Regions from separate parts of the Homo sapiens genome. Here region 2 is linked to region 1. Evidence: promoter capture Hi-C in human tissues and cell types (Jung and others, 2019). All regions are on one chromosome and are shown on one strand. Each heading gives the region's core, a stretch centred on a gene start or on the middle of the fragment in contact. The rest is flanking DNA. Distances are from core to core; before and after follow the strand shown. Region 1 holds the start of DYNLT1 (dynein light chain Tctex-type 1). Region 2 overlaps ZDHHC14 (zDHHC palmitoyltransferase 14).

What was found. Contacts are between HindIII fragments. The study calls those that stand out against the background at their distance.
Region 2: a contact is called between a fragment that was not itself captured here and the fragment with the promoter of DYNLT1 in region 1, in 1 of the 25 tissues and cell types used here (lymphoblastoid cells).

Annotation. Positions count from the first base shown.
Region 1 is chr6:158,643,125-158,648,078 of GRCh38, forward strand. DYNLT1 (dynein light chain Tctex-type 1) reads right to left here and starts at 1,619. Exons shown (of 5, transcript NM_006519.4): 1 at 1,558-1,619. The coding sequence starts at 1,584. It also overlaps a transcript of SYTL3 not described here. RefSeq lists an enhancer at 990-1,933 and silencers at 1,057-1,386, 1,547-1,776. The HindIII fragment of the contact is 14,460 bases long and covers 1-4,954 here.
Region 2 is chr6:157,550,003-157,554,813 of GRCh38, forward strand. All of the region lies in intron 2 of ZDHHC14 (zDHHC palmitoyltransferase 14), which reads left to right. Among named protein-coding and RNA genes, the nearest start is that of MIR3692, 23 kb to the left of the region's middle. RefSeq lists a silencer at 161-361 and an enhancer at 2,219-3,041. The HindIII fragment of the contact is 3,701 bases long and covers 693-4,393 here.

The sequences.
Region 1 (4,954 bases), core at 369-2,868:
ACTTAGCCACCTTATTTGTGGGAGTCAGAATCGGACTGCAGTATTAAGCGCTTTCCTTTACAAAGCGATTTCTTTTTTAGAAGTTTTACTCGATATTACTGTAATACAAGACATTTTCCAATATTATATTAGTAACAGTTTAAGGGGAAAGGCTTTTTTCTTTGCCAACTGCTCCTGAACCAGCTCTTCTCGTCATTATTCACTTGGTTGCCATCAGCATTCAAACACTGATTATGCCACTGTCACAGGAAGTGTGTGCTAGTTAGGAAATCAGATCAAAACTGAAACTCTAGAATCAGTCCTTAAGTTTTAGTTTTATTTTCCCTGAAAACATTCCTCCTTAAACGAAATTTTTTTCTTTTTTTTTGGTTTTTGAGACGGAGTTTCGCTCTTGTTGCCCAGGCTGGAGTGCAATGGCGCGATCTTGGCTCACGGCAACCTCTGCCTCCCAGGTTCAAGGGATTCTCCTGCCTCGGCCTCCCGAATAGCTGGGATTACAGGCATGCGCCACCACGCCCGGCTAATTTTGTATTTTTAAAAGAGACGGGGTTTCTCCATGTTGGTCAGGCTGCTCTCGAACTCCTGACCTCAGGTGATCCGCCCGCCTAGGCCTCCCAAAGTGCTGGGATTACAGGCGTGAGCCACTGCGCCCAGCCACTAAATTTCATAAATGGTAAGATATCCAACCTTACCAAATGTATCTATAGTTTATATTTTTGACAGGCTGCATAATAAATCCATAGGGCTCTATCTGAATTTCAACAAGGATTATTCAGTAAGAAGAAAATGAGTGTTGTATCTCAGCTGCGCCCATCAGCTCTATTCCCCGAATGACCGTGAGCTTGAAGGAAAGCCATTTAACGCACACGGTGCCGATGGGTGTCTTCTGCTTGGCGACATCGTGGGCTTTATCCTACTTCCTCAAGGAGGCATAAAAGATGATTTTTTCCCCACAACAATGAGCTTTCTTACAGACATATTAAACGGAAATGAAATGTGCTACTCATTCCCAGCGTTGCAGAACCAGGTGAGGCCCGAGACAAAGGCGCGGGATGGCCGGGACGCCAGCCCGGGGCGGAGGGGCTGGCGGCGGGAGCGTCACCCGCACCTCCGCGGGGAGACGTCCAAGCCTCGGCGCTCCCAGCCCGGCCGCCGCGCCCCGCTCCAGGCTGGGGCTGGGGCTGGGGTCAGCCCCGCAGAGCAAGGGGCGGTGATGTCATCCTCTCGGCGAGCTTGGCTGCGGGCCGGAGGCGAGGCCCTGCGGGAAGGTTTCTCGGCACCGCTCACCGGGGCGCTCTCTCCGAGTCACGCCCGGTGCCTCCCCGCGCGGGAAGAAGCTCAATCCCCTTCCCGCCCCCCGCGCCGGGGAAACGGCGGCAATGTCCGGGCAGAATGGGGCCGGGCGGAGCGCCGGCGACCGGGAAGCTCAGGCCGTGGGCTGCCGAGACTGGCCTAGCTGAAGGAGGTGGGCAGCCAGGCCTTTCCGGGCAGGACCGCGTGTCCTTCCGCGGCCAGGGCTCTAGGCCTCCACCCTTCCGTCGCCGACCCGGCGGTTACCTCCTCCGCAGCCTGGTAGTCTTCCATCTTTCCTCCGGCGCGTCCCCTCCGGCTCCCTGAGTGGCGCGGACTGCGCAGGCGCACTCAGGCCCCGCCCCGGACCTGCCACGCCCCTCTCCTCTCGCGCCTGCCTCGCCCATGCCCAGCTCCCGGGCCCCGCCCTTCGCTGCCCGGACCCTCAGTGACCCCATCCCTGGGCGGGGCCCGTGGGTGGACCCTGAATTCGCCTCTCCTCCTGTCCTCTGGGAGGTGGTAGTTTCCATGGGAATCCGTGAGGGTAGCCGGGCAGCTCCCTAAACCTTAGCAACAGAAACAAAACACACGTACAAAAGGCAGTCCTGGAGGGGAAGCGTGGTCCCGGCCCCTCCTCCGGTTTGTACTGTGTGGATTGACGCGGACGTTCAAACCCGCTCGGACACCTGGCAACAAACTCGAAAGTGACTGCTGAAGGCAGTGCGCCCGGTGAGACGTTGTTGCAGTTCCCTTGGGGACTGGGATTGGCATGCTTTAGCTATCTGAACGAAACTTCCCTTTGGGGAGTTAAGTTTTCCAGGTAAATGAGAATTTTTCCTTTAAGCACCATTAAAAAAAAACATTTTGGGTGGAAAATTTTGTAAAATGTGGCACACTTCCTGACTACCTTAACCATAGTGAACTAGACAGACTTTATTTGTATGTGGGTTCTTTATGGAAATTAGGAATTGCACTGGGCTCTGGTAAACTGCCCTCCACGGAAAGCTGGGGCATATGCATCTATTGGCAGGTATTCTGAGGCTCCGAGTTTTGATTTTGGCGTTTGCTTTTTCTGGTTTCGTCATGCACTTGAATTCAGGTTGCTGGAACCCACTTCCCATTCCCCAAGAAAGAGCTGACTGCAAGGGTCCCAGGGATTTGGTAGACCTAAACTTCAAATCCCACATCTAATCCATCAACAACCCTTGTTATTTCTACCCCATATGCTCGGGACCCCAGTTAAAGATTGATATCTCTCATCTGGATTATGACCATCGGACTGTAACCTGGTCGGTCTATCAGGGTCTTATTAGAGCCCTTCAAGAGGAACCTAACCCAACGACTCCTCCCTCCCCTCACCCATTCTGCCCTGCCATAAGTCAATAGTTACTAAGTTGTCAGACTATAGACTAATCTTAGTGATCTTTGGATGACTAAACTTTTAACATATCTTAGCTCAAAATCTCCTACAGAGAGCCATTCTGTGACCACGGCATCTAAGGTAGCCGACCTCCTCATCCTCCACCCCTGCATCCTGTACATTTTCCTCATAGCACTTCTCTCAGTTTGCAAGAACGTATTTATGGTTGCTTGTTGATGGTGTGTCTCCATTTAGAAACTAAGTACCATGCAGGAAGGATCTGTTTTATTCACTAATGTATCCCCTTCCTTCCACATTGTGCCTGGCACATAATAGCTACACAATTAACATTTATTTATTTATTTATTTAGAGACAGGGTGTCATTCTGTTGCCCGGGCTGGAATGCAGTGGTGTGATCGGAGATTTTGAGCTAAGATGTGTTGAAGTTTAGTCATCCAAAGACCACTAAGAGCTTGAACTCCTGGGCTCAAGGTATTCTCCTGCCTTAGCCTCCTGAGCAGCTGGGATTCCAGGCACTAGCCACCACACCCACCTATTTTTTTAATATGTCTTTTGTAGAGATGGGATCTCACTGTGTTGCCCAGGCAGGTCTCAAACTCCCGGGCTTAAGGGATCCTCCAGCCTCAGCCTCCCAAAGTGCTGGGATTATAGCTGTGAGCCACCATGCCCGGCCTAAAATTTATTGCATGAATCATTTCCCTCATGGGTGTTAGCTTTGCCTCAGACCCAAATGGAGAGAACTGGGGAGTGGAGGAAGATGCAACTACCTGCCTCCTTGAGGGAAACAGGGCTGGCGAGAGGAGGGCAGAGCCCTGACTGACACAAGGCTGCTTGGCCCTGGGTGTTCGGCCTGAGCGAGGAGACTTGCTGGGCAGGCTGGTTGCTTTACCACACCTGGTCTTCCTCTCCTTGGATTCTGAACTTTATCTACCTTTTGAATTCCTTTCTTATTACCTGGCTTCAACTCCCCTGTCCTGGTGTTTCAGTCGTGCGCCTCAGTCCACATGTGATTCTGATGCTGACATTGCTTTGCCTGCCTGCCCTTCTCAGTATCACCTGAGATCTCGTTTTGGATGTTCTCTGCCTACCTGGTTCCAAGCTCTTGGCCCCACCACGATCCTGAGCCAATCAGGAGCCTCTGAAATCTTTTTTCTTCTGCTACTTTGTTGTGGACCTGGAGTTCAGTAGCTAAGTGTCACAGAATTATGTGCAAAGCAAGAGTAAACCGGTTCTGAGCAAACACCTGCAATGGAAGAACATGACACTTGGGACAGCCTTTTCAATTTTCCCCACAACCTTTTAGGAACTTCCTAATTTAAATCAATTTCCTGAATGTCTGCTAGGATGGTGCATAATTAATGCATGGATCTTGTTATAACTGCGGATCACCAGCATGCACATAAATCAACAGAAAACATGCAAATGTGCATTTTAAAAATGCTTACATGATTTTAGCTTTTATACATTGGGTACCACTCTCCAATTTTAACTATTAAAGAACATTTGTTAAATGATCGCGATGTATGACATTTTGAGGCTGCCAGTAAACGGATGAGCTGGTCTGTTTATCTTCACAACTATCTGTTCACTTGTTCAATACACATATATGGAGCACTCCCTTTGTGTCAGGCTCTGAGCTGGGGGTTGAGGCTACAAAGTTGACTAAAACATGGCCTTTATGGAATTTTTTCTTTTAAACGGATATATCTGTAAATAGGAGGGTTTGAATTCTCTAGGCTTATGTGATGTTGTAGTGCTTGGAAAAATGCAGTGATGTGGTATTATATTCTGCCCAACTGATGTAGTCTGTAGGGCTAAGGAATTTAAAATCGTTAAGACATTTGGCAGTTCACCAGATGCCATTTCCAGCACCTTCCATCTGCCACGAATGGATGTCCATCAGAAGCATTGGAGCTCAGACACCTTTACTCGTAACTGCTCATGAATCTTTGGCATTCTGCCATATTTTAGAATAATGTTTAGTTTCTATGCAGTAAGTCAGTGGAGTGAATCTTAGGTTTGTTTTTCAATTTGGAGGTTAGTGATAGGTTGGCAGGTTTGCGTGCAATCACCTTTCTTTTCTGGAGTCAAATTTCTTGAATACAGACTGTGGGACTGGAGCTGCCAATACCTTTATTTAGCAAGTGTGGGCCTAATAATCATAGCAATCAATGAACTGTCACATCAATAAATAACATCAATAATATCCAGCAGTGGCTGGGCGCAGTGGCTCACACCTGTAATCCCAGTACTTTGGGAGGCTGAGGTGGGCAGATCACCAG
Region 2 (4,811 bases), core at 1,293-3,792, 1.1 Mb before region 1:
CCTGTCTCCTGGTGGACGTCCTTCACAGAATTGTCTTCTTGGTCCTCTAGAGAGCTTTGTGGGTGGAAAGTGGCATTTTCCTCCTTACAGGAAGAGAAATTGAGAGAAGGGGGTTATTTCACTTGATGAGATCACACTTTGGTGCTCAGCCTGCACTGAGCCTAGGAGTGTGAATTCCTAAGTTCACATAGGCATTCTAGAGAGACCACAGCATCACATAGTCATTCTAGCTAGCGACCGCAGCATCACACAGACACTCTAGAGAGACCACAGCATCACAAGACACGCTAGAGAGACCACAGTGTCACACAGGCATTCTAGAGAGACCACAGCGTCACACAGGCATTCTAGAGAGACCACAGTGTCACACAGACATTCTAGAGAGACTGCAGTGTCACACAGGCATTCTAGAGAGACCACAGTGTCACACACACGCTCTAGAGAGACCACGGCATCACACAGGCACTCTAGAGAGACCACAGCGTCACACAGGCACTCTAGAGAGACCACAGCGTCACACAGGCACTCCAGAGAGACCACAGTGTCACACAGACACTCTAGAGAGAACACGGTGTCACACAGACACTCTAGAGAGAACATGGTGTCACACAGACACTCTAGAGAGACCATGGTGTCACATAGGGATTCTAGCGACCACAGTGTTTCCCCTCCTGAATGTCCCTCTTTGTGTAGTTTGTGTACCTGTGTAAAGATGTGAAATCTCCTCTGTAGAATTGATGAACTCCTCCCTAAAGCCAGGATACCACTTCCTTTCAGGTAAGGGGAAGTCTATCTTTCTCTTACTGCACCAATGTCACTTTCTTTAGAGTTTGTGTTGAGCTGGCACGATGATGGCGTACAGCAATGTTGACATGCTCTGCTAAAACACAGAATATACTGTGATTATAATCAGTTCTTATATACAGGGCCATGGAAGGGGAAGGATGATGGCATAACCAGGGTGAGGAGAAGGTCATCCTGAGGGCAAGGAACACAGAGGTTGTGGTGTAGTGGGGAGTAAAGGACCAAGTGGCATGAAGAGGATGGAAAACTTGGGACCACATGCATGGTTCAAGAATACAGTCAAAGCATGGAGAGAGTGGTCTGGAGCATGTTAGTGAAAATTCCAGGCCCACCCCTACCCAGCCAAGGGCATCAAGAGAGGTGATGACTTGTGGGTCTGTCCATCTCTCACAACAGCTTTCCGTGTCCCCTCCCTTCCTCCTGGGGTGCTGGCCACTGCAGGGCTCTGAGTCATGGGACATTCCAGCTTAAAGGGACCTCAGCAGTCATGGAGGTCACCCTGGACAACTCCTTTGGTTTACAGATGAGTAAACTGAGGCTCAGAGACAGGTGTAACTCCACCCACTGACAACAGAGCCAATCAGTGACAGGCCTGGGACCCTGGCATGGGGTCTGGTTCCAAGTCCAGGTATATATAGCCCTCCTTTAACTTCCTGGCTCCTGAAACAGAATATCTAAATCTTTGCTACTCAAACTGAGGCCCATGGAAGAGTAATGTCAGCATCGCCTGGGAGTTATTAGAAATGCAGACTCTTGGGCCCTGACTCACCTGGTAAATCAGAATCTGCATTGCAACAAGACCACAGGTGAGTCACCTGAATGTGAGAAGCACAGCCCTGGGGCCTTTCCACGTCCCTCCTGTGACCTTCCTCTACAGCATAGCCTCTGCTTCCTCTCCACTGCAACTCCCAGGACTGTCGTATTTTCAGGAGTTTTGCTAGCTACAAGTTCCTCTACTTTGAGCGTTCTGTTTAATCACCTCCCTCCCTGCAGTGCCTGTGAGATAAATAGCGTCTTATTCCTTATTATTACATATTTAAAATAGCCATATGAACTTAGTCTATGACTTTGAGAAGTGTGTTGACTTCTTGGGGCCTTAGTTTCAGTGTCTGTAAAATAGACCCACTGAGTGCAAAGAGCCATTCCAGCGTTATCATTCCATGATTCTAGAAATAAATCCCTCTTTCTCCTTTGCTTGGTTGTGAAAATCTGGGAACCTAAATACTTTAGAGGATTATTTCGACGGTTCCACTGCTTAAACAGAAGAAATGACGTCTTCTGTTAATTTTAAAATGCAAAGCTCCGTGCACACCCATGTAAATTCAACAAGCAAACTGTAGGTACTGCAAAATAAGATATTTCAATGACTCACTGGAATATTACTATCATTAGTAGTGTAACTGGCGTATTTGGGAGGATAAAGCAAGATGATGGAACGGTAGCTCTTTTGAGTGAGTGAGGGAGTGAGTCAGTCAGTCAGTTGGGTTTTAGAAGGAAGCCAGAGATGAAACCCTTCATGCAGAGTCGGCAGGGCAGGGCAGGCGGCACATTGGGCACAATAATCTCTGGAACAGCCCTCTGCAGTGGATGTGCTGGGCGTGAGGAGGAGGGGAGGCCAGATGGGCTTTTCAGGAGAAAAACCCCCCTGGAGGATGTTAATCAGGGGAGTGGGCAGCTCTTTGTGCTTGGGAAGTGGGAGGCATTTTTATTCCAAGTGTGGAGGTAACATGAAAGGCAGCTCAGGAACAAAAGGAAGCAAAGGACTCAATGAGGACGGAGGAAATGGACCAAGGCAAGGAGGTGTGGCGGGACCTGTTTGGGAGGAGACTGACCTGGGAAGACTGAGCAGGTGCAACGGCATGGAAAAGAGTCCCAGCCATGCTGAGCCCAGGAGGGGACTTAGAGAGCAGAGGCTGCTGCCTCAGAAGCCAGGCCTTCCCTGCAGAGCCTCTCAGGGACAGCTTGTTTCCTAGCGGCCCCAGGAGCCTTCTACACCCTGCCTTATAATACACATCTGCAAGTTTTTGGTGGCTGGAGTTGTGACTGGGAATCTGATCTAACCTAGAGCCATCTGCCAAACTACACACTCAGACTGTCCCTGATTACCTCTCACACCTCATTGTTAAAATTATTCAGGACATTTGTTAAAACATGAAGGCAGACTGTATTCAGGGAGACCATGCAGGGTCATAGGGACCAGTGCAGTGGGGTTTGCAGTAGGGAAGAGGCATTGGGCTCCGCTCCAAATACAGCAAGGAACAGTGGGAATTTACAGCCAAGGAGCAGAGTTGGGAGCAGTGGATGGAAGACTACTAAAAGGAAGCCTCAGGGCTGAGGGGGCTTCTGGCTAAACCAACCTAACCAGATTCCAGGCGAAGGCAGGCCAGGGTGGTCAGAGATTCCCTGGGGGATGGTGGGGGATGAGGAGCCCCATTGAGTAGCAAAGGGGATCAGATATTGAGGGTGAGGGTTCTGGCTAACTCGACTCAGCAGGACTTTTGCTAAAATTGAGCATTGCAGAAACAGACATAGAAGCCCCCAAATCAGGGCCTCGCTGGGAAGAGCACTCAGAGATGCCTGACTAGAGTTTGGCAAGGATGGGATCTTCCTTATCACGGATGCCTTCAGGTCATCCACATGTTCACACACTCTGTGAAAATAGGACTTTGCTGAGGTGTCCTCTTTGGGGTCCACATGCACATCTGTGATATTACTGAGACTCTGCCATAATAATCACCCTCCGAACCCCTGTCATGATCAAACCAACTCACCCTTTGCCTTCCCGGTGACCTTTCTCACTTCTTTACTTTAGACTCGTATGCTGGGGGGTGGGAGAGGGCTGGGGGGAAATACAGCCTGCTCTGGGGGAGCTGTATCTCCCTTCCCTCTGTGCCCTGGAAAACTTACATGTAAGGATGGGAGATACATTAACTGTTTATTTTGTGTTTCTGGTAGATAAGTTCTGAGATTAAGAATCATTGCCTACAAACATGAGTTGATTGATGGCTACCATGTAGTTGAAAGTCTGACATGGGCAGCACTCAGAGCCTAGCGGGTACTTAGAGAGAGGACAGGGAAAGCAGACGGAGGTGCCACCGGGATGAGTGGAGTTGTCCCATGAGGGCTCTTCCTGCCACCATGTTTGGTAAGGAAGAAATTCCCCATAATTTTCATCTGTCCAAATTTACCTTCCAAGGCTTTTAGAGAAAAAACTTGGCTGACATAGATAGACAGAAGCGAACACCATTTATTCAGAAACTGTAGATAAAGCTTTCTAGGAGAAAACACAAGTCCAAGTGGGTGAATGCCATGTTACATACCACCACAATTTGGAGCGTCCACTTTTTAAAAATCTCTTCATTTTCCTTTAAGGATGGAAACTCGAAGTCTAAGTGTCCTGGAGTGAATGAGGGAGTGGTTCTTTACATTCAGTAGAAATTAGCAGAATAGAAGTGGGCTAAAATCTTCTGCTGCCTTCACCAAACCCAAATATAACACCCTTGGTGGACGATGAGTGGCAGCTCCACTAGGAATGTAAGGCAGGCCGTAGGCGAGACGGCACGAGTTCTAGCAGTGACATTTAAAAAGTAAAAAAGCATATTTTTAAAAGTAAATTAATTTTAATAGTATATTTTACTTAAGCCAGAATATCCCAAATATTATTTTGATGTGTATTTGGTATAAAAGAGTACTAATGGAAGATTTTACGTTCTTTTGTCACACAGTACATTTCAGTTCAGACTAGCCACACTTCCAGAGCTCTGTAGAATAGGCACACGGGACTAGGGGCTCCCAAACTGGACTGCACAGATTTAGAGGACAAGGAATTGGACCTAAAGACTTAACTGAAATCTCTCGGATGTATCCATCTTATTTATTTTATTTTTGATCATTTGAAAGAATTCTAAGCTTTTTGAGCCAGCGAGTAAAAAAACGTCGGCATTTGGGATGTGGCTGTTCCTCTGTGATCACCACTGTGATGGTGGTGACACTCTGCAGAGAGAGAT